Regions from separate parts of the Homo sapiens genome. Here all the other regions are linked to region 6. The links are contacts of gene promoters, found by promoter capture Hi-C in blood cells and fetal thymus (Javierre and others, 2016). All regions are on one chromosome and are shown on one strand. Each heading gives the region's core, a stretch centred on a gene start or on the middle of the fragment in contact. The rest is flanking DNA. Distances are from core to core; before and after follow the strand shown. Region 1 overlaps SETBP1 (SET binding protein 1). Region 2 overlaps SETBP1 (SET binding protein 1). Region 3 overlaps LINC01478 (long intergenic non-protein coding RNA 1478). Region 4 overlaps SETBP1 (SET binding protein 1). Region 5 overlaps SETBP1 (SET binding protein 1). Region 6 holds the start of SETBP1-DT (SETBP1 divergent transcript). Region 7 overlaps SETBP1 (SET binding protein 1).

Region 1 (2,899 bases), core at 263-2,762, 300 kb before region 6:
TCCCTTGTCATGAAATAAATAAGCAGGTTTGCTGGTGCTTCCAGCTTTATTCAGTTTGCTTAGATACAAGGTGACTGTAAGCATTGATTCCGTGTAAGACTGGATATAGATTTTTTAAGGGAGGTACATGTTCTGGGAGTTAGAGTCACCTCCTGAAGCCAACTGGCTCTGTAGCTTGGCTCAGGGATCCAAGGAGAGACAGAAAGAAACTGCTGGAACCTGAGAGATTACGGTGAGAGTCGGGGCAAGTGAGCTGGCTGCAGTTTTGGGCCTCTGCCTCAGGGATTCACAGGATGTTACGGCTGGAATTGAGGGCCTTGAAGATCACGCAGAATTATGTTTCTCAAACTTAAGGGTGCATCGGTTTTTAATAGATTATTGTTCTCCTGCTTCAGAGGTTCTCATTTAATAGGTCTGAGATAAGGCCTGAGAATTTGCATTTCAAACAAGTTCTCAAATGAGGCAGATGCTATTGGTCTGGGGACCACTTTAACTTTGGGAACCACTGATTTAATGCAATTCTTTCTTTTTACAGATGCATAAACTGAGGCCCAGGCAGAAGTACTGATCTGCGAAGGCCAAAACCAACAGCCTGTCCATGAGAGCTAGGTCTAGAAGACCCATATTTCTTGCTTTCAAACCTGGGCTCCTACTGCTTCCCTAGGACCATGCTTTGCAACCTCTTACCCTGCTACACATGACCATAACCTTAACCTAGAGCTGTGGAAACTGTTTCTGAAACTGGCAGCAGGGATGGGCTCTTGTCTTCCTGCTGGAGGCCTGCACCTTCTGTGCCTTCAGTGAAGGTGAGCAGCCCCAGTGCTTGAGAAAAAGGAAAAAGCCTTTCAAGGCTCCTCAACCTCCCTGCCTCTCCCTCCTCTGACAAAGTTTCCGTTTGTAAGAGACGGGAGAGGCACGGGAGGTCGGGGCTATTCAGAACTGAACTTGGTTGTATTATAAAGTAATGAGTTTCTAGAGACTAGATTTTTTTTTTTTTTAAAGCAGAAGAATGTGCGAATCAGAGAAACTACTTGGGGCTGGATGACCTCTAAGCTTTCCTCTAACTTTGAGATTCTACGATCTATGAAATTGGCTCTTATAATACATATTGTAGTAAAATTTCCTCATTTCCAACCCTACTAAACCATGGTTTGTGACAAGACGCAAGTTGTAATCAAATAATGCTGAGCCCTAAAAACAGTTTACTGTGCAAACTAGCTATTTCTAGTCTTATTTCAGCAATCAATTTATAAAATACATGTCCTGACACCACTATCAAAATATTCCCAGCTCACCCAATCACTCTACATCTTCTCAATCTGCTTCATTCTATACTCAGTACTTATCAATATCTGAGATCATATTATAGGCTCCTGGCTTTGCTTATTGTCCGGTTCCACAGAAACAAGAATAGAGAACAAAGCATCACTTCTCGTGGTCACTGCTCTAACCACGACATTCAGACAGTCTGGGCACACAGTGACACTGGATCAACATTTGCTGAGTTGACTCCAAAATTTCCATACCTCCAAATTTACATCCACATGGGTTTTCAAACACATGAACTTAGTTATTAAGAAGGAACTGCTTTTTGTAAATGTATTAAATGAGGAACATGAATGAAGAACCAAGACAGTCACATGTTTCTGCTCTGTGAGCCAATATGTGCAATAGATGGTGTTAAGAAAAAATAAGGAATATTCAATTGCATAGAGTGAGTTTTCTTGAGCCTTGACCATATTTCGTTTCTCTGAGAGCCTCCATATGTAAGAGTTATTTGTGATTTTTATATCAGTGTGGACCATTGGTTAGCACTTAGTTCTGGAATACTTTCTTCTCAAATTCTTAAATCAAAATGACCAGCTCAATCAATGACTCAAAATTTCAGATTCATTCAACACACAAATACATTACCCCTGTATCCCAGTAGAATCATACAGCTTTGTGATCACTTTCATGAGCCAAGCTTTACTAAATTATCTTTGAACTTATGGAGGATAATACTATACAGAAAATTTCATTGACTACTATTTTATTTCAAGATTGTGGATTGAGCATCGAACTGAACGAAATGTTATATGGATACAGCCAGTAGTACACTGAATTTCATTACAGTAAGGCAGCTCCTTTGAAATTATCCTAGAACAAAGGGCCAGGCAAATATGAAAGGCTTAGGGGCAAAGTTAAAACAGACTGCTTCCAGGAATACAGTTTTAAAGCACAAAACTTTTAAACATACTGGAGTTGACCTCTCAGATTGCAAAGGGAAGCAAATGCAGATTCGGTGGGTTGGGCCCCTAATGGCCAAAAAGCCCGTAGAAGTCCTCTCATGGTGTTGTGGTAGCAGTCACCAGACAGGAGAGGAAAAGCCTCCCTGGGCTCTCAGAGGTCTCCTACTCAACCTCTGTAAAATAAGTGAGTTGTTTAAATCAGCAGCTTGGTAGAGGAGAAAAAGCACCAACTCTGAAGTCAGCCAGATTTGAGTTCGAATTCTGGGTCAGCCCCTTGTGAGACACATGATTTTAGACAATTTATTCAATTCTTGAGGCTCAATATCCTCATCTTAAAATTGGGATAATTGTGTCTGCACAATCTTTAAGACATCCGGGATCATTAAATATTTTTTTTCAATGTAAAATGGCATCACGTCCTGTAGCTTTTAAAACTGAGCCAATAGCTCCAACTCACTGCAGGCCATCATGGGCAGCCACCCCATGTCTGCAGTGCAGGAAACAGAACAGGGCTTGGGAAACATACATCTCTATGTCCATCTATAAAAGACTCACTATGGTTGGTGTTGCTGACTTTGTTAAGAATGACAGTAATGCAAGCTTCCATTTTGACATTCAGTAAGAGCCCTCATTTGAAATATTGTCTTCTCATCTGTTAAATCTGTTAA
Region 2 (3,008 bases), core at 431-2,930, 380 kb before region 6:
CCAGCTGCACCTCTATTTTATGAGCCGAACTTCTTGTCTCAGGAAGTCCTGCGCTGCTGCCACTAAATGGCCTTCAGAACTGCTTAGTTTTGAAGTTCAGACACCATAAAGCGTGAATGGCTTCAAGATATAGCCAACCATTCCTCCTGCAGATCATTCTTTCTCCTTGTGTTGGTCATGAGCAGGCACATGTGTGATACCTGTGTGCACATGCACACACACACACACAAATGGGCACATACACTCACACAGACTCCATGGCTCCACCTTCAAGGTGGCCACTCCCCCTGGCTGTTTATAAACATAAGAAGTGTGTCTTCACTGAGTTCTTTGCCGCTATGATTTACGCTGCATGTTCAACCCGAAAGGAGCCCATGTGGAAGACCTACGCATAGAGGGAAGTGTGTTGCATTTTATCATTTTGGTTTGTTGTTTCCTCCCATTATTACTTTTGTACCTACTAATAGAGAAGCAGAATAAATATCTTAAGAGAGAGGAGGAAAAAAGACGCTTAAAACATGGATACCATTCTCACTTATTGTGGGTACTCCCACTTGATTCTTTCCTCTGCTTTGTCCCATTTCTCTCTCATGCTGTGCCCAGCACAGATTGCCAGGAGGGTTTTATTTGAAGTTATTTACACCCCCAGCTTCATGGAGTGGAAAGAGCTGAGTCCCACAGGCCAGGTCAAAATGTTACAGCTTTTGGCCAAAGGTCAGTGAGACTGACCGAGCAATGAATAACTACTGAATGATCTTTAAAATAAGTTATAAAGATCAAAATAGAACAAAGCCAGAGTGAGCTTCTGACTACAAAAATAAAATTTTTGTAGTTAGTTTTGTAAAAGAAAAAGGTTGCCTGGTTGTAAGTTATCAGAGGCAAGAACCAATGCCTGTCTGTCTTTATGTCCCTCAAAGGGCCTAGCAGGGTGCCTTGTATATAAAAGAGATTTAAGAATTGTTTCTGGACTGACAAATCAGTCTAATCAGGCCTTGTAGTCGTATTCCCTAGAAGAGTTCTAGTTTGGATTTTTAAAGTGATCATTGCAAATATAGTGATACTAAAACTTAGCCCACCTTCATGTCAGTGACAGATAATTTACCTTGTCCACATAGTTCAGGAATCAATGGCAACTAGTCAGTAGTAATACTCCACAAAACTTGACAGTATTCCAAGCAAAGCTTTCATTTACAGTTTGCCCTCTCTTTAGTTTATATCAGTCATAGAGGAAGCAAATGCTATGTGATATATTATATAAAATAGCATGAAAGAATAAAGTAAATCACCTTGCTGACATGTAATATAGAAGTATAAAGTAAATCAATTAGTTGGCAATACTGTATTTGACCGAGTTAAGCTTGATGGAAATACTCCATGAGCTGCAGGTCATTTGGGGAAAATATAACCAATGGATTGTCACTCTATGTGTTGTCTTTTTAAAATGAAATGCCAAAATAAATAAGTAAACAAACCCCAAAAACAAAATCTCCAAACCAAAATAAATAAACAGAAACCTAGCAGATAGCAGATAATTCCATATTCAAAAACATGTGCTGAATAATTTATTAAGTCTTTGCATTAAAAAAGGATTATGAAATAAAAATTAATTCTGATAGTGTAAATCTACCAAACAATCCTAAAAAATGACATAACCAACTCTTTTGTGCCCACCATTCACATTTAGCAAATGTTAACTTTTTGTCATTTTTTTTTTAATAAGAAAACATTACAGATGGAGCTAAGTCATGGCTCCCTTCTCCATTCCTTTCCCTTTTTTCTATGCTTGTTTTAATCCTTTTGTTGCATATATATGAGCTCATGTTGGTAAAAATTAAAAATCTGAATCTACCTAGTATTGGTAATGATGTAAGAAACTAGGAACACTCACATACTGTTGGTGGGAGTGTAAATTGTTATAATCATTTTGGAGAGTGATTGGGCAATAACTGTTAGAGTTGAAGATGTACACATTCAGTGTCCCAGCAATTTCAGGTCAAGCTTGCCTGCTTTACTCATATATATCAGGAGGCAAAAGTCATATAAGGATGTTCCTTGAAGCTCAGTGTATGATACAGAAAACTGAGAACAATCTAATTAATCAACTGTGTTACATAAAATAATGCAATATTATACATCCATTAAAATGAATAAACTACACATAAATATATCAACATGGTTAAATCTCATTTAAAGAGTTGGGTAGAAAAGGAAATCACAAAAACATGTTTAAGTATACTACTTACATAACTTTAAAAACACACGTACATCTTGAACTTTTATTTTATCTTCAGAGTCCAGTTGTGGAGGTTTAAAGTGACTGCTGTGTAGGAGATCAACTGTGAGTCAAAGATTTGGTGGATGACTCACCTACTACTCAACATCTACTTCCCCCCAAGGCAACCTCATAGAGTTTTATTAAGCCACTAGAGTAGGGCTGTCCAACAGAGTTTTCTAAGATGGCGAAAATGTTCTCTATGTGTGTGCTGCCCCATAGAGCCACTAGCCACTTGTGGCTACTGAGCACTTAAAATGTGGCTGGTGTGACTGAGAAACTGAATTTTAATATCACCTAATTTTCATTTAAATAGCTACAGTGTGGCTAGTGGCTACCCTATGGGGCAGCACAGATCTAGAACTAACTACCTTGAACTACAGAGGACAGAAGACACACAGGGATTCATTCAGTAAATTGTGGACTGTGGGAGACTCTAGACAAACAACCTGGTGTCTTCCACAAATAAATCGCAGGGCAGGGAGAAGATGAAACTGTGCATCAAAAGAGACTAAAGAGATAAAGGACCTTATTTGGATGACAATTGGAACAAACTGTTAAAAGAGATCATGAAATAAATGGAAATTTGAACAATGGGCATTTCATGATATTATGTAACTACTATTAATTTCCGTAGGTGTGATATTTGCATTGTGATTATGCTTTTTGAGTACCTATCTTTTAGAAATGCATACTAAAATATTAATAGATGAAATCACATACTATCATCTGGGAT
Region 3 (2,700 bases), core at 167-2,666, 350 kb after region 6:
CAAAAATATATGATGCAGGTTCAATCAAGCCTATGATGATAGGCTTCATTTGTGTGGGTGTGATTAGGGAGGGAGAAAATATCAAAGTACAAAGTAGAACATTTCTGAATAGAGCTACACATGCTTCGATTAGAAAAATCCCAAGATTTTTGTACCATCTTCACATTCCCAATAATTCCGTTTCTACAGACTCCTGTAAAAGGAAGAAATTGGTTGGCATCTCTGCAAGCCCCTCCTAGCCAGAGCAGTCAAGAAAATGCCATACAATGTGTCCCCTTGTTTATTCTACTCAACATGTGCAGATCTTTGTATTTTTGTCTTTTATTAACTTGGCTTTTTGATAATATGGTCATGCACCACAAAACAATGTTTTGTTAAATGATAGACCTCATAGATGACAACAGTGGCCCTATAAGATTGTAATAGAGCTGAAAAAGTTCTATTGCCTAGTGACATCATAGCATAATTACTTTATTTTAAAAATAAATTTAGTGTAGCCTCGATGTACAGTGTTTATAAAGTCTATATTAGTCTCCAATAATATCCAGGGCTTCACATTCACTCACCTCTCCCTCATTGACTCATCCAGATCAACGTCCAGTCCTGCAAGCTCCATTTATGGTAAGTGTCCTATCCAGTTGTGCCATTTAAACATTGTTTTGACCATATCTTTGTCCTACCTTTCCTGTTTAGTTACACAAATATTTATCATTGTGTTATAATTACCTACAATATTTAGTACAGTAACATGCTGTATAGGTTTGTAGCTTAGGAGCAATAGACCACACCCTCTAGGTTTCTGTAAATATCCTCCATGATGTTTGTGAAATAATAAAATTCTGTAAAAATGCATTTCTCAGAATGTATGCTATCATTAAGCAACATGTGACTGTATATGGTAACGGGACACACTTATAAATAAAAGAGATAAAATGGTTAAAATCTTGAGTAGCCTTTCAGAACAAACTGCTGAGAGAAAAATACATTGTGCATTGTGTGTTTGTAAATTTCCAAAGGAAATATATCACGAGGACAAATTGATAGAAGTGATCAAAGTTTTTTGAAAGCGTAACTGGATTGGTGTATAAAGGAATATGTATGATTTGAATTAATTATTTAACGAAATGGATACATGTGAAAAAGACGACGGCTTTTTTTTTTTTTTGCCTTTCTCTGAAGGACAACTGTTGCAGATGCTCTTAGATTTTACATACAACATGGAAAAACTTAAATCATCTTTAATTCTTGGGTGCAATATTTACAAACAGTAATAGCTCATATTTATATCACTCAAAGGTTTGCAAACCTTTTTTCTACATAGTTATTACCTTTATCCATATTGGTATATGGTGGGCAGATGAGAATTTGTCTTTTTTTACTTAAGGGAAATTAGCTCTGAGAGATTAAATAGTTAATGGGGCAATATAGGAACCTGGCCCCCTGAGCCCCTGTGCAAGGGTTTGCCTCCTATTCACCACACATCTTTTGGGCTCTGGGAGCGAATGCTTCTTATGGCACCATCTTGAGCAAATAATTTCAGTTTTTCTGTTTTTTTTTTTTCTTCATTGCCCCCATATCAGATGGATGATGTTGCAAGAATTCTTGGAGATTTACACATAATTTCTGTGTTTTCTGTTTTGCAGAAGAAAGAGACATTATACAAATGCAAGCTGTTGTCACAACAATGATAAGAAATCAGGAGTCGAAAGATGTGGAGTAAGGGGGAATTTCAGAGAAACCACAAAACACAAAATAGGAAACAGAGACAGGAGAAGATTGCTATGACAAAATTGCAGAAGGTGAAATCTTTGGCAGCCTCTTATTTCTCTGGAGAATATGATATTGTCAGGCTGAGGTGGAAGAATCACATGGTCATACTGTAAGTGCTATGGTTCCAAGTGGTAATGTTATTGATCAATTTTCAACCTGAGATTTGTAATGATAATCCCCACAAGTTGCTTGAGATCCTTAACAGTGAGGTTTTTAGTGAGTTTAACCAACTGTCAGTGCTTGAAAACTCGCCTACAGGGGGCAGCACAAATACAAGTAAACTTAGGGGTAAAGCATGAAATGCATCCAGATTCACAATTGTTTCAGGATCTGCTTGCAACTGAAGCACTGTCTGCACAAGATTCGGCTGAGGGAATATATATAAAACAGAATGTTCCTGTATGATGTTAGTTTTAAAGGTAGATTTTTGGCAGTGGGAGGGTTAGCATTAACATTCATAATGTCACCTGTTATATATGTGTTATTTTTACATTTTAATATTTTAGAATACAGAAATGAATATGCTAATATCATTTTGAAGAGACAATGCCCGTATATATATCACTTGGAATTGTTAGAAATTGGTTGAGAATAAAACATGATCCCTTCTTATGAACTTGGAATTGTTAGAAATTGGATAAAAATTAGAGATGATCCCTTCTTATGACTTCAGCCTAGGAGTACATTGTAGAAAGCCAGGACCAAATCTGACACACTGAAACTTTGATTCCTGATTTTCAAAAAAGAAAAAATACTAGGTGAGGTAAACTGGCTTAACAAGAAGTTATGAATCCAGAACCTGGATGTCAGATATAGATGATCTAGGCTGAGGTGCCTATTCTCTGCCCTTTGCCCTATCCTAAAACTGTATGGATGGAAATGAGCCCACCTTTTGCTCTGAACTGGTGCATTCCTTCCTCACTGCAGGTT
Region 4 (2,926 bases), core at 285-2,784, 360 kb before region 6:
TATCATAGAATTTGGGAGCTGAAAGCAATTTTCACATCATTTTGTTCTAGCTACTAGTATGCTGAATTTCATTCTGATTTCATAGTATTAAGAATTCCCACTATTATTTGTAATGGTAATTAATTTTTCAAGCTTAAGGTTTTGCATCTTGACTACAGGTAACAGTTAGTTCTGATTCGACTGATGGCTGGGCTAATAACAAAATGATTTCCCTAACATTAGTCCCTGCCATGAGAAGCAAAATGCCTAAAAATTTAACAGACTTATGAAATTTAAATATTTTTACTTATTCATGGGCTCTGGTAGTTTTAAACATGGTAGATAATATAGTTTGAAATAATAATGGATTAGCCTTGATACAACAGATAGAAGCTAAGAGCTGTGCTCACTCTACTTCCTTGTTATCTCAAACTGAGCTACACCTCGAGCAGTTGAGATCCAATGATAGCATGGCTGATACATGTTTGCTTTTTTTTTTTTCTCCTTGGACTTAAGATGAGAGAATGTTGGTGTGTATGTGTTTGTGTGTGTGTGTGTGAGTGTGTGAGTGTGTGAGAGAGAGAGAGAGAGAAAGGATATACTTGTCTTCCCATTATTGCTAGTCTAGTCTTTCAAGTGCAAAACCATACAGATTTTGTTGCCTTGATGTTTTTCTGAGTTCTTACCACCATTTGGAATCTACTTATTCATACAGACTCATCTTAAATATAAGGGGAAAAAACATGTTTCTGAAATGAAATCACAGTTTCTCTATACATTACGTGATCTCCCTGAGAAGTTAGTTCAACATCTAGAAAATCAGAAAAATCAGCCTGGCTTATTCAGGTATGGATTATCTGATATGATTATTAAATCATGATTGGGCTAGTGTAATAGAAGTTGTTTCAAATTATGCCTCACTTTGAGCAAACTTTAGTGGCGCTTTTACTGCATTAGCCCTAATTACTCACAATAATGATGCAATGCTCCCTTGAATCAGACCTCCTTGGCTGCACCAGGGGACTGCAGCTGATCAATAGCTATTGAGCAGTTTGACCACTGAGGCTGATCTGTTTGAGCACCTCCGGCAGCCACTGTCATCCTCCCTCCCAGTAGCTCACAAACTGACATGTTCCCAGCTCGCCACTCTCTCCTGCATCTCCTCGATGGCCCCCTTTTACAAATCAATAATGTCATAATCATTATGCCTCTGAGACTCTGAGAAGGTAAAAAAATTGCCTGAAACAAAAAAATTGGGGGACCCATATAACACATGCATATATGCATACAAGCTAGAAAACACATATTTGTAAACCCCTGACTCATATTCATTTCTCCCATATTGTATCGTTTATAAAATAAGGTGGGAATGTTCCTTTGTTGTACTTTTACCAAAGATCACCTATTTGAAAAAAGTGCTGTTCTTACTACAGGTTGATAAATTATTTGGCAAGTATTTTCCAGCGGCCTACAAAGTGCCTGTCAAATGATTTCCATTTAATTGTCATTATGCCTGTAATCCTAGCACTTTGGGAGGCCGAAGTGGGCGGATCACCTGAGGTCAGGAGTTCGAGACCAGCCTGGCCAACACGGTGAAACCCCGCCTCTACTAAAAATACAAAAATTAGTTGGGCATGGTGGCATGTGCCTGTAATCCCAGCCACTTGGTAGGCTGAGGCAGGAGAATCGCTTGAATCTGGGAGGTGGAGGTTGCAGTGAGCCAAGATTGCACCACTGCATTCCAGCCTCAGTGACAGAGCAAGACTCCATTTCAAAAAAAAAAAAAAAAAAAAAGCAGTTTCAAGATTGAGTATGTTTTTCTCAGATGTCTCTCACCATATTTAATGCTGTAAAAGCATACAGCTACTGCCTCTCAAACATTTGTTTCACTCAGTGATTATTTACTGAGCATGTACTATGTGTCAGGAACTGTACTAGGTATTTTTGCATCCACTCTTTTTTTTAAAATTTTTTATTTTTTTTTGAGATAGAGTTTCGCTTTGTCACCCAGGCTGGAGTGCAGTGGTGCAATCTCGGCTCACTGCATCCTCCGCCTCCCGGGTTCAAGCAATTCTCCTGCCTAAGACTCCTGAGTAGCTGGGATTACAGGAGCATGCCACCACACCTGGTTAATTTTTGTATTTTTAGTAGAGGTTTCACCATGTTGGCCAGGCTGGTTTTGTACTCCTGACCTCAGGTGATCCACCCACCCTGGCCTCTCAAAATGCTGGGATGACAGGTGTGAGCCACCATGCCTGGCCTGCATCCATTATTTCTAAATAAAATTTCTAATTAATTGAATTACTTCAGTACCTTCTTATCTCAATACACGATTGCTTAAATTTGTTTTATAAGCCACCTAGTTTAACTCTTCTGTCCTTTTTTTTTCTCCCTGCAATTGTCTGGGTTTCCAAAACCATTCTGTAGGAATGGTAACCTATTAGAAAATAAGCTGATCCCTGCCTAAAGCCAGACGTAATTCTACCTTGCTTATAGTGAAAGATGAAGAAAGGCACTCTAAAGAAAACAAAAATCAAGTGAGTTGTTTCATCAGAAATACATATTACAGTACTATATATGTTACTATATTTCAAGCACCTAATTAAATAAGATCAAATCCAGAAACTGTTAACTACCTACTTTGTGCTTGGCTTTGGCTAAAGCTATCTATCTACCCCATCAAATTATGAGTTTCATTCACTGTTCTCCAAAAGAAGTAGAAGTCCATATTTATGGAGAAAAAAAATCTGCCTTTGCTCATGTTGGGACTATGACAGAAGTGGGAATCCACTGGAAATCAGGCAGTAAATCAGGAAATTTGGGTTCCAATCCAACTGTATAACCTCAGGCAAATCTCTGAATCTCAAGAGGCCTCAGTTTCTTCACATGTAAAACAGAGCATTGGCCACAAGCCCAGCCTGTGTGTTTCTAGCTCTCCCAGGTTTGT
Region 5 (2,844 bases), core at 337-2,836, 340 kb before region 6:
ATGGAAAAGAGGTGGTTTGTTCTCTATGTGTCCAACTTGGGACAAAATCTGCTCCTAGTAGGTTTTGAGAAGGTGGCCAAGCAATTTTAAGACACTTTCGAATCAAGGGTAGAAACTGAACTTTTGTTCAGTTAACAGTAGGGCATAGTTAACTCGTGTGCCCTACTGTACATAATTCCGACTTGCCTTCCCTTGGTTTCCTTTTCTCTTCCTCAACATTTATTGGACAAATTCTACATTAGAAGTTTCTTTCTAGGCACTATGAGGGAAACACTAAGGAATAAGTTATGTTTTTTGCTCAGAAGACACCTAAACCCATGCTCAAATGATTATTTTTGCAAATCAAATCTTATTTGATTCATTAGGACAGCTCATGTTTAGAGAAAGCTGGAGAGGAGGGCTTAGAGAGAGTTATGTTTTCAAGAAAATAAGACCCTCCCTCTCTAGTGTATGTATTCTGCAAATGTGAATTTTTATATATTTGCTCTGGGGTTTTCAATTTTTCTTCTTCTCTTTATGAGTTGTATATTTGACATAGTTTTAAAGGACTTCATTCCCAGCACCAAATTTCCTATAATGCTCATTCTCCAATTATGAAAAAGCTTTGAACACACGAAAGAAAATGGGAGGTTTGGGAAGAGAAGAGAAACAACTGAATAATAATGACAGAGGGTGAACATTTCATTGGTGGTCTAAGAGGACAGATATGCAGATAGAAACCATACAGGCAGTTTAACCAGGAGAGCGAGTTGGGGAGGCCATTAGACCAGGCTGGGGGATTAATGTCAGTTCCTAAACAAGCACATGCATTATAGATTTAAACCGTGGCATCCTAATAACTGATTAAAAATAGTCAAAATAGATGATAGCTGGCATACAGACCCAAAACTAAATTGTTTTACTAATTTCAAATTTCATGCCTTGTTTAATTTGCAAACTGAAGTCAGTCCAGTAAGTTATAGATACCACTGAATTGATATGTGTTGTGATATTCATGTATTTATTCATATTACCTATTTATTTGTTCAACAGATGTCTGCTGAGCAACTATATTGAAGAAGGATGTCTGCCAGACCTTAGTAACAATGTCATTGCAAAACAAGATAAAGATGAAAAGAATTGGTATAATAACCAAGAAAGGGCAGTGATGATTATCATTCTAACTAAAGACAAACCACACATATTGAATTTCTGACCGCTATAGAAAGAAGAGTATTGAACATTGAGATTAGTTCAATACACAAACACCCCACATTTGCAGATGGATATGCAATAGAGAACAAAGCACATTGCACTGATGTCTGGAAAGTTTTGCACACCTAGTGATTCATTTACAGACCATGCTGGACAGGAGCATCTCCATACAGAGGTGACTTCAGGTGTTCAGTGCATGGTTTATGGTCATCAAAAAAAATTGCATGGTGAGAGGACAGAGATTCAGGACATGGGATTTCCAGACTCACTTATCTTTAGCTCTATGAGTTTGAGCATGTTACTGCTTTTTGTCCTGAGTTTCTTTATGGCCTCTAATTCCTTCTGATTCTGCATTTTGGGTAGATAGAAGAATTTCCTCTGCTCCTAAACTGTAGGAAATTCACCTGGCCACCTTAAGGGAAGATCTGAGAGCCAAATGTGGGAAACATTCCTATTTTTTAGAAGATAACAAAGATCTCATTTTTTCTTTAGATAAACCAAATAAAGTGTAATGGGTTTTGGGCATGGAAAGGCCTGGAGAACCCAGTTAGGTCCAGGCTTGTCTGGGTGTTTCTATGATGTAAGTGTGGGTGCCTCATAGTAAAAGTGACTCAGAAGGACATGCCCTAGTGTTGCCTTCGAGGAGAAGCCACTTTTTTTTTTTTTTTTTTTTTTTTTTTTTTTTTTTTTAAGACAGAGTCTTGCTCTGTCACCAGGCTAGAGTGTAGTGGTGTGATCTCGGCTCACTGCAACCTCCACCTCCCAGGTTCAAGGGATCGAGGAGAAGCCACTTTTTAACAAAGTCCCTTTGGTTATTTCAGGACCAACTAACTGTCCACGGCTGAAGACCAAACGATTATATGAGTAACTTTAAATCTCAACCTGCCACAACCCTGGGAGGTAGATAATACCAACCATATTTTATATATAAGGAAAATGAGGCTGAAATGTTCAGAAGCATTCAAAGGTCTCACAACTAAATGTTACAAGGAATTTGAACCCAAGTCTCTATGGTAGGTGCTTTTTCTTAAGCAGCTTTCCTTTCCCATGGCCACTGGAAATACAATTGACAATTTAGTGTGTGGACTCCAAAAACCGGCAGAGAGAATGAGAGGTGTTTTTTATGCATGTCCTTTAGGTAAAGGTATAAAAAAAAATTCTTGTCAACAAATGGCTTGTTTCTTAATTCTGTTTAGTTAGCCCTGGGTTCAAACAGGTAATGGCCTAATGTGGGATTAAGAAGTTGCAGAACCTGTTGAAAAAAAAATACCAATTCTGACTGAATGTGCAATTAGGCCACAACTATGGAAAACATCCATGTACTCAGAGCTAAAAAATAACTGTCAGGTTTGACAGGAACCTGAGAATTAAGCTTCCCAAAGAGAAGAAAGGAAGCTGAAACCAGGATTCAGAGAGCAAATGAAATAGTCAAGAATTGCCAATGAGGCAAATGCCAGACTTTTAAAGAGATTTAAAAAAATTACTCACAAAAAACGATAAATACATGAGTCAATGTATGTTAATTAGCTCGATTTAGCCATTCCACAATATATACATGTTTCAAAACAACATGTTGTACAGGATAAATATATATAATTTTTATTTGTCAAGTAAAAAGAAATTCCCCGACTGTATTCCCCAAACCTGGAA
Region 6 (2,704 bases), core at 105-2,604:
AGCCTGCCGTTCATTCCCAAGCCCACGGCTCCTCTAGAAACGCACACAATGCGTGCTTTCAAAAAGGCATTCGTCTGCTTTTAAGGGAATTCCTATCTTTTCAGAGTCCCAAAACCAGAGAGCACAAGAAAGAGACTCAAATCCATTGATTAAGATTTTTAAGAAAAAGACTAACACACAGGCACAACACAAGCACACACCAACCTTCGCCGGCTGGACCACTTCTTGCCTGTTCTTCTTTCTATTAACGACACGTTAGATTCTGATACATTCCCCCCCCAAAAAAATCCAACTAGGTTACAATGTAGCTCTCTAGCTCCACTTAACCTGCAAGTTACAAAGAGAGAAAAAAAAAATCCTGCCTTCCCACCCCTTTCCTTACCCCCTCCCCCTCCCGAGTCCACTCCACCAACGCCAAACCCGCCAGCCCCGCCAGCCGGCTGCAGGACCGAGGGAGGGTGCAAAAGGCGGGGGGCGGAGGGGGGGTAGATCAGATTAGGCGAAACTCAATAAGCTCCCAGCCCTCCAGCCCAAAGCTTCCACCATCGCCGCCACCAACGAGCCACTCCAATTGAGCCAGCATCGCCGCCCACCCGCCGGCCCGCCGGAATCGCGCCCATCTCCTGCAACCTCGCCCGGACCGGCATCCCGCCCCCTCGGCCCGGTCTCCCCCTTCCCGCCGGGTGCAAAGTCAAAGACCCAGCAAGGCGACGTGAACTTTTGCATGCAGGGCACACACGTCGCCCCCGGTTCCGGGAGTGCGGGGGCCCGCGGCGCGGAGGGAGGCTGGGCGCCCGGGCTCCCGGGCCAAGGTCGCCGCGCGTGCTCACCCATGTCCCGGCGGCTCCGGCTCCGCTGGCCCCGGCGCTCGCTCAGATCCCGGCTCCCGTCGCTCGCCCGAGCCCCCAAAGGTGCTGCTGCGGCAACTCCATGGCGATGAGCATCTGTCAAACGGCGAGCCGCGAGCTGGCCGCCCTAGCTCGGGGGGCGCCGGGGCCCCCGGGCGCGCGGAGGCGGCGGCGAGCGGCGGGCGCCCCGGCCGGCCCCGCGCTTCCCGCCCGACTCTGCCGCCTCCGCCGCGCCACCGATTTATGGAGAGAGATATCAAGGGGGAAAATGGCGTCTCCGGAGCCCGAGGAGTCCTGGAGTAATCACATTCACACACACACGCCCGCACGCACACACACTCGCACACACTGGCACACAGGCGCGCGGCGAGCCCTGCTAATTTTAGCAGGAGCCAAAAAAAATTTTATATATATATATATATATATATATATATATATATCCCCGTCTCTCCGATCAATGCTTTTTCTTTTTTTGCTTTTTTTTTTTTTTTTTTTTTTTTTTTTGCTTTTCTTCAAAGGATGGGTTGGAGCGTTAAAAAATGTTGGTGGGTTTGGGCTCGCAGGAGGCGGCGCGCGGAGGGCGAGGGCGCTTTTGCTGAGCTGTGCAGTTCGGTCCGCTGAGCCCGGCGGCCCTGCCCGCCCGCTCGTCCGCCCGCGGTCGCTAGTGTTGCCGCCGCCGCCGCCGCCGCCGCCGCTGCTGCTCCATGGCCGCGCCCGCCCCGCGCCCCCGCCGCGTCCCGTCGCCGCCCGCCCGCGTCCCCGGTGAGCGCTGGAGTGGGGTCGGGCCCGTGTGCCTGCCTCCCGCGCCCTCTCCGAATCCCGGACTCCTAGTGAAAGGAAGGGGGAGGGCGCGGGCGCGGAAGGGAGGTGGATCGGAGCGGCAGCGCGGCCCAGCCGAACGGGTACCGACCGTCACCCCGCGATCTTCCTCGCAGGGGGCGCCGGCGCCCAAGCTGCTCGCCCGGAGGGCCCAGAGCCGCTTCCCAGACCAGAGCCGGGGGAGGCGCAGCCAGTAGCGAGCCCTGAGCGACCTCTCTCCCCACTCGCCCCCCTGCCCCAGTGAATTTCTGTCAGTTGAAGGGAGCGGGGCTCTTGCCCGGGGAAAAGGAAAACAGTTCGTGGCCTGGGATCTGGGACCCCTTGCCGCCCCCAGCGCCCCTCCCGCTCCCCGGCGCCCTTGCGGCCCAGTGGCTCCTGCGCGCCGGAGTCCGCCGCGAAGACTGAGCGGCCGCGGGGATCGCCGCGGGCTCCGCGCGTATTCCTGGGCTCAACACTGCCACTATCTGACACAACAGGAGCAGTGTCGGGGGGGTACTGCGCGCCCAGACGTGAGCTGTGATAGGCTCTCGAAACTGGGCGCATTTTTTTTTTAACCTGGTAATTATATTTCACTTTCAGGGTTTTTTTAAATTATTATTATTATTTTATTGTTGTTGTTAAGCGACTTGTATGCATTCAGATCTCATGTGCATTTTCTCGTTATTCAAGAGAATTGGACACTTGATGAAGGGAAGGACACGGAGAGATGACAAACGCAGACTGGCATGCAGTTGTTTTCAGGGTGGGAAGAACAAAGTGGAATGTCTTCAGTTCTTACAAAATATGGTGGCATTTGTAATCTCTGAGTTTTTGTATTTGGCCTACAAAGGGGGTCTTTTCAGGGAAACACGAATGGAACCCTTCAGAGACATGTCTACATTGTAAAACAATATAGGATAGATACGGATTCGGGAAGGTCTGCAAATGGTTCCGCTCAAAGAACTTGGGGTAAAGTTGACCGAGGACTCGGATTCTGAGAGGACTCCTATCACGTTCTTCATGAGAGTTTTAGGCTATTTGGACTGAGGAATGATTTG
Region 7 (3,017 bases), core at 28-2,527, 320 kb before region 6:
ATAAGCTCTCACCCATGAGTGAAGCCTGTGATTCACTGCCTAGGCCTGTAAATAGATATGTTATGAGCCAGAAACACTGGGCCTGGGGCTGCCACACTCTCTGCCTAAAAGATGGAGGAGTGGTGGAAAGGCTGTCAGGTGGGCACCAGGTTAGATCTCAGGACACCTGGTCCTAACCCTGTTTCTTTTTCATTTACCTGAAGAGTTACCCACATTCTTATAATTCTTGTTTCCTCACAGGTAAGATAAACAGAAGAGACTCTTCTACTCTGATATTCTTTGATTCTGTAACAGGCAGCTGGTTACACAATAGAAAGTGAAGTTTACATAAACTTGGACAGTAGAGATGCTGTTTCTTCTACACAGTGCATGTGAAAGGATGCATCACACCCAAGGTACAATGAGGCCAATCATCACGCCAACCATCGGTGTAAAAAAGATGAATTTGGGATGCCAAGGACAACATCTACCTGGAGTATTCCGTTTTTATGGCATGAATGGAAGAAAACCACAATAATTGGTCCCCATACTAAGTCATGCTCAAAGAAGGCAGAAGTGCATATATTTTGCCGGGGCTATGTTCACACCTATGCCATATGCTACCTTGGTGTTCATCAGGTGAGATTTATTCTGGTGCAGGATTTCTCCACTTCAGCACGCCTGACATTTAGATGAGATAATTCCTTGTTACAGGGTAGGGTAAAGGCTGTTCCACGCCTTGTAGGGTATTCAGCAGCATCCCTGGCTTCTACTCACCAGATGCCAGCAGAAGCCCCCACTTAGCTGTAATAAATGTATCTCCAGACATTGCCAAAAGTCTCCTGGTGGGGGGCTAAATAAACCCAGGCAAGAATCACTGGCGTAGTGGGATACTATCTTACGAAAGGACTACCCACACCTAAGTCATAAAGCACAGTGATAAGAAATGTCACCCTTCCTGGAATTTAAAAGAGAGTCACCACATTTAGATTACGAAGGTCAACAGACATTTGGGTGCCTATGCAACTAGACCTTGTGAAGATTTAGGAAAAGAAAAAAAGACTTTCAGATTACTGCTGTTTTTTTTTTTTTTTTCCCATGACATTACTATTCTTCCAGCATCTAATGTGGAAAGAGAAGTGAAGTCTTTTATTGGACTCATATGAGGATGGTTTGGCTATGGAGATATGGGCAGGCTACTCGCTCGTTCACATGTTTACAGTGGGAAGTGCCTCCTGTCCTCGAGGCCATGCCTAGAGTAAATATTGCCCATGTAGCTGGTTCATGATGGTGTTGGGTGGCATAGACTGCTGTCTAATCATGCTCCTTGAATAGGACAAAGGCCCACTCAGTAGGCTTGAACTCACATACATACATTACTTGTAATGGAAGAGGGTAATCATGAAAAGCAAACTACTTATTGCAACGATATTGCCATTGTTTAAATGTCACTTGGAGTTTGAAACCAATAGAACCAGATTGTGAGCCAATCAATAAAGCCCAGGGTCCTGTATGCTCATGGATGAGGAACTAAAAAATACACAGATTCCCTAGAATTGTGCACAAGTGATTTTTGAAAGTTTGCATATTTTTGTTTTCTCAGAGGATGAGGGTTTTCTCTGATGAATAATTTTAAAAGAAAATATACCAAAATCTCTGGAGATAATTTCAGAAATATTCCAAAGTATTTTGAGCGATGGCAGCTTTGTGGAATGTGATGTATCCTTTTGAGAAAAAGACCTATTTGTTGAGTTTGGCACATATCAGTGTATTTCTTAAATGGATCAATCTAATTACTAGTTTCTCACATATACCAAGGTGCTCAGCTCCCACCTCCACCCCAACAACCCAAGTTCTTAACTATCAATCCTCAAAGAGGTGGTGAGTAGTTAAGAAGACCCACTGTTTCCATTTTTAGCCAAGTCTACACTGTCCCTTCTCAGATTACATTTTCAACTGAGCCCTTAAAACTAGCCTGAAAGGGTAAAACAAACGAACACCTTTCTATATAAAGAAAACAATCTCAATAATGTCTCTTCAGATGAGAGAGTTGCTGAAGTTTGAGCACCTTGGAGAAGGAACTGCAAAATGCCAGCAAAAGTGGAAGCTACAGGTTTGAGGGCGAAGGCACCCACCAAAGGCAATAACAGGCAGTGCTTAGAATTCGGCATTGCCCTTGGAAACATTTACATGCTTAAAAATATAAATATAAAAGATCGAGGGTGTGGAGGGAGATAAGAAGGAAAACAGAAGAAGAATGAAAGAACTGTTCCATTCCTGGCCACCATTAATACCACCAAATTAAAATAAATCCCAAATGAATAGGACGAACAGTATTGAGGCAAACACTGAATTCCAGCAGGGACCAGGCCTGTGTTGTAAAAACAGGACCATGTGCTTTAGGAGGAATGCTGTGTGCTCAGCCTTGTTTATAACACGGCAAAGGATTCAAGAATGGAATCTGTTCCTCTTGACAAAAAAAAAAAAAAAATGGTTCTTCTCAACCCTTGCCCTCCACCATCTTCCACTCTTTGCCCTTTTCAGATCGCAGATCTGAAAGCTGGGGTTCTAGGGTGAATTTTTGAAATGCTCTGTTTTGGCCTGTTTTCATCAGCATAGCTAGAAGGTGGAGAGGGATGGGTGGCAGGGCAGGGAGCCAGGGAACTGAACTGTGGGGGAGAAGGCTTTGTTTTTTTCAAAGAGAGATCAATGTACGGAAGCGAAGCTTTTCTGAAGGAGCTTTCCAGACTTTTCGGATCTGTGGTATTTTCAGGCAGGTTATTATTATGATTATTATTTTGGTGGGGGAGCCTTGGATAATGCATGAGATCTGGAGATTCAAAAAGGAACAGCTCCCTCTCACTCTGTGGGATAAAATCCCACCCTGACTTTATTCTGTCTTAAGTAAGTTTCCTGAGGATCCTTTAGTCTCAGTATGAGTTAACCGAGCATGAAGGTAGTGCAGTGGAAAAAGCATGGATTTAGGGGTCTAAGGTCTTTTCTACCTCTTCCTGGTTGTGGCATCTTGGTATGTTACC

The links. The method cuts DNA at HindIII sites, captures the fragments that hold promoters and counts their contacts. A CHiCAGO score of 5 or more calls a contact.
Region 1: a fragment that was not itself captured here is called in contact with the fragment with the promoter of SETBP1-DT in region 6 in 3 of 17 cell types (naive B cells, total B cells and activated CD4 T cells); the score reaches 7.3 in naive B cells.
Region 2: a contact is called between a fragment that was not itself captured here and the fragment with the promoter of SETBP1-DT in region 6, in 1 of 17 cell types (total B cells). The highest score is 6.2, in total B cells.
Region 3: a fragment that was not itself captured here is called in contact with the fragment with the promoter of SETBP1-DT in region 6 in 1 of 17 cell types (M2 macrophages); the score reaches 7.1 in M2 macrophages.
Region 4: a contact is called between a fragment that was not itself captured here and the fragment with the promoter of SETBP1-DT in region 6, in 2 of 17 cell types (naive B cells and total B cells). The highest score is 7.5, in naive B cells.
Region 5: a contact is called between a fragment that was not itself captured here and the fragment with the promoter of SETBP1-DT in region 6, in 2 of 17 cell types (total B cells and naive B cells). The highest score is 9.1, in total B cells.
Region 7: a fragment that was not itself captured here is called in contact with the fragment with the promoter of SETBP1-DT in region 6 in 2 of 17 cell types (naive B cells and total B cells); the score reaches 5.5 in naive B cells.

What each region holds. Positions count from the first base shown.
Region 1 is chr18:44,978,584-44,981,482 of GRCh38, reverse strand. The region is part of intron 4 of SETBP1 (SET binding protein 1); the gene reads right to left. Among named protein-coding and RNA genes, the nearest start is that of MIR4319, 9.9 kb to the right of the region's middle. The HindIII fragment of the contact is 913 bases long and covers 1,056-1,968 here.
Region 2 is chr18:45,059,244-45,062,251 of GRCh38, reverse strand. The region is part of intron 5 of SETBP1 (SET binding protein 1); the gene reads right to left. Among named protein-coding and RNA genes, the nearest start is that of MIR4319, 91 kb to the right of the region's middle. The HindIII fragment of the contact is 641 bases long and covers 1,360-2,000 here.
Region 3 is chr18:44,325,426-44,328,125 of GRCh38, reverse strand. LINC01478 (long intergenic non-protein coding RNA 1478) reads left to right here. Exons shown (of 5, transcript NR_110792.1): 3 at 1,644-1,879; 4 at 2,698-2,700. Among named protein-coding and RNA genes, the nearest start is that of LINC01478, 200 kb to the left of the region's middle. The HindIII fragment of the contact is 3,567 bases long and covers 1-2,700 here.
Region 4 is chr18:45,040,994-45,043,919 of GRCh38, reverse strand. The region is part of intron 5 of SETBP1 (SET binding protein 1); the gene reads right to left. Among named protein-coding and RNA genes, the nearest start is that of MIR4319, 72 kb to the right of the region's middle. The HindIII fragment of the contact is 2,800 bases long and covers 135-2,926 here.
Region 5 is chr18:45,019,299-45,022,142 of GRCh38, reverse strand. The region is part of intron 4 of SETBP1 (SET binding protein 1); the gene reads right to left. Among named protein-coding and RNA genes, the nearest start is that of MIR4319, 51 kb to the right of the region's middle. The HindIII fragment of the contact is 1,964 bases long and covers 605-2,568 here.
Region 6 is chr18:44,678,522-44,681,225 of GRCh38, reverse strand. It overlaps SETBP1-DT (SETBP1 divergent transcript), which reads left to right and starts at 1,354. Exons shown (of 2, transcript NR_187430.2): 1 at 1,354-1,610; 2 at 2,337-2,704. SETBP1 (SET binding protein 1) reads right to left here and starts at 338. Exons shown (of 6, transcript NM_015559.3): 1 at 205-338. RefSeq lists silencers at 464-513, 654-903, 1,574-2,213. The HindIII fragment of the contact is 7,071 bases long and covers 539-2,704 here.
Region 7 is chr18:45,001,745-45,004,761 of GRCh38, reverse strand. The region is part of intron 4 of SETBP1 (SET binding protein 1); the gene reads right to left. Among named protein-coding and RNA genes, the nearest start is that of MIR4319, 33 kb to the right of the region's middle. The HindIII fragment of the contact is 2,859 bases long and covers 1-2,706 here.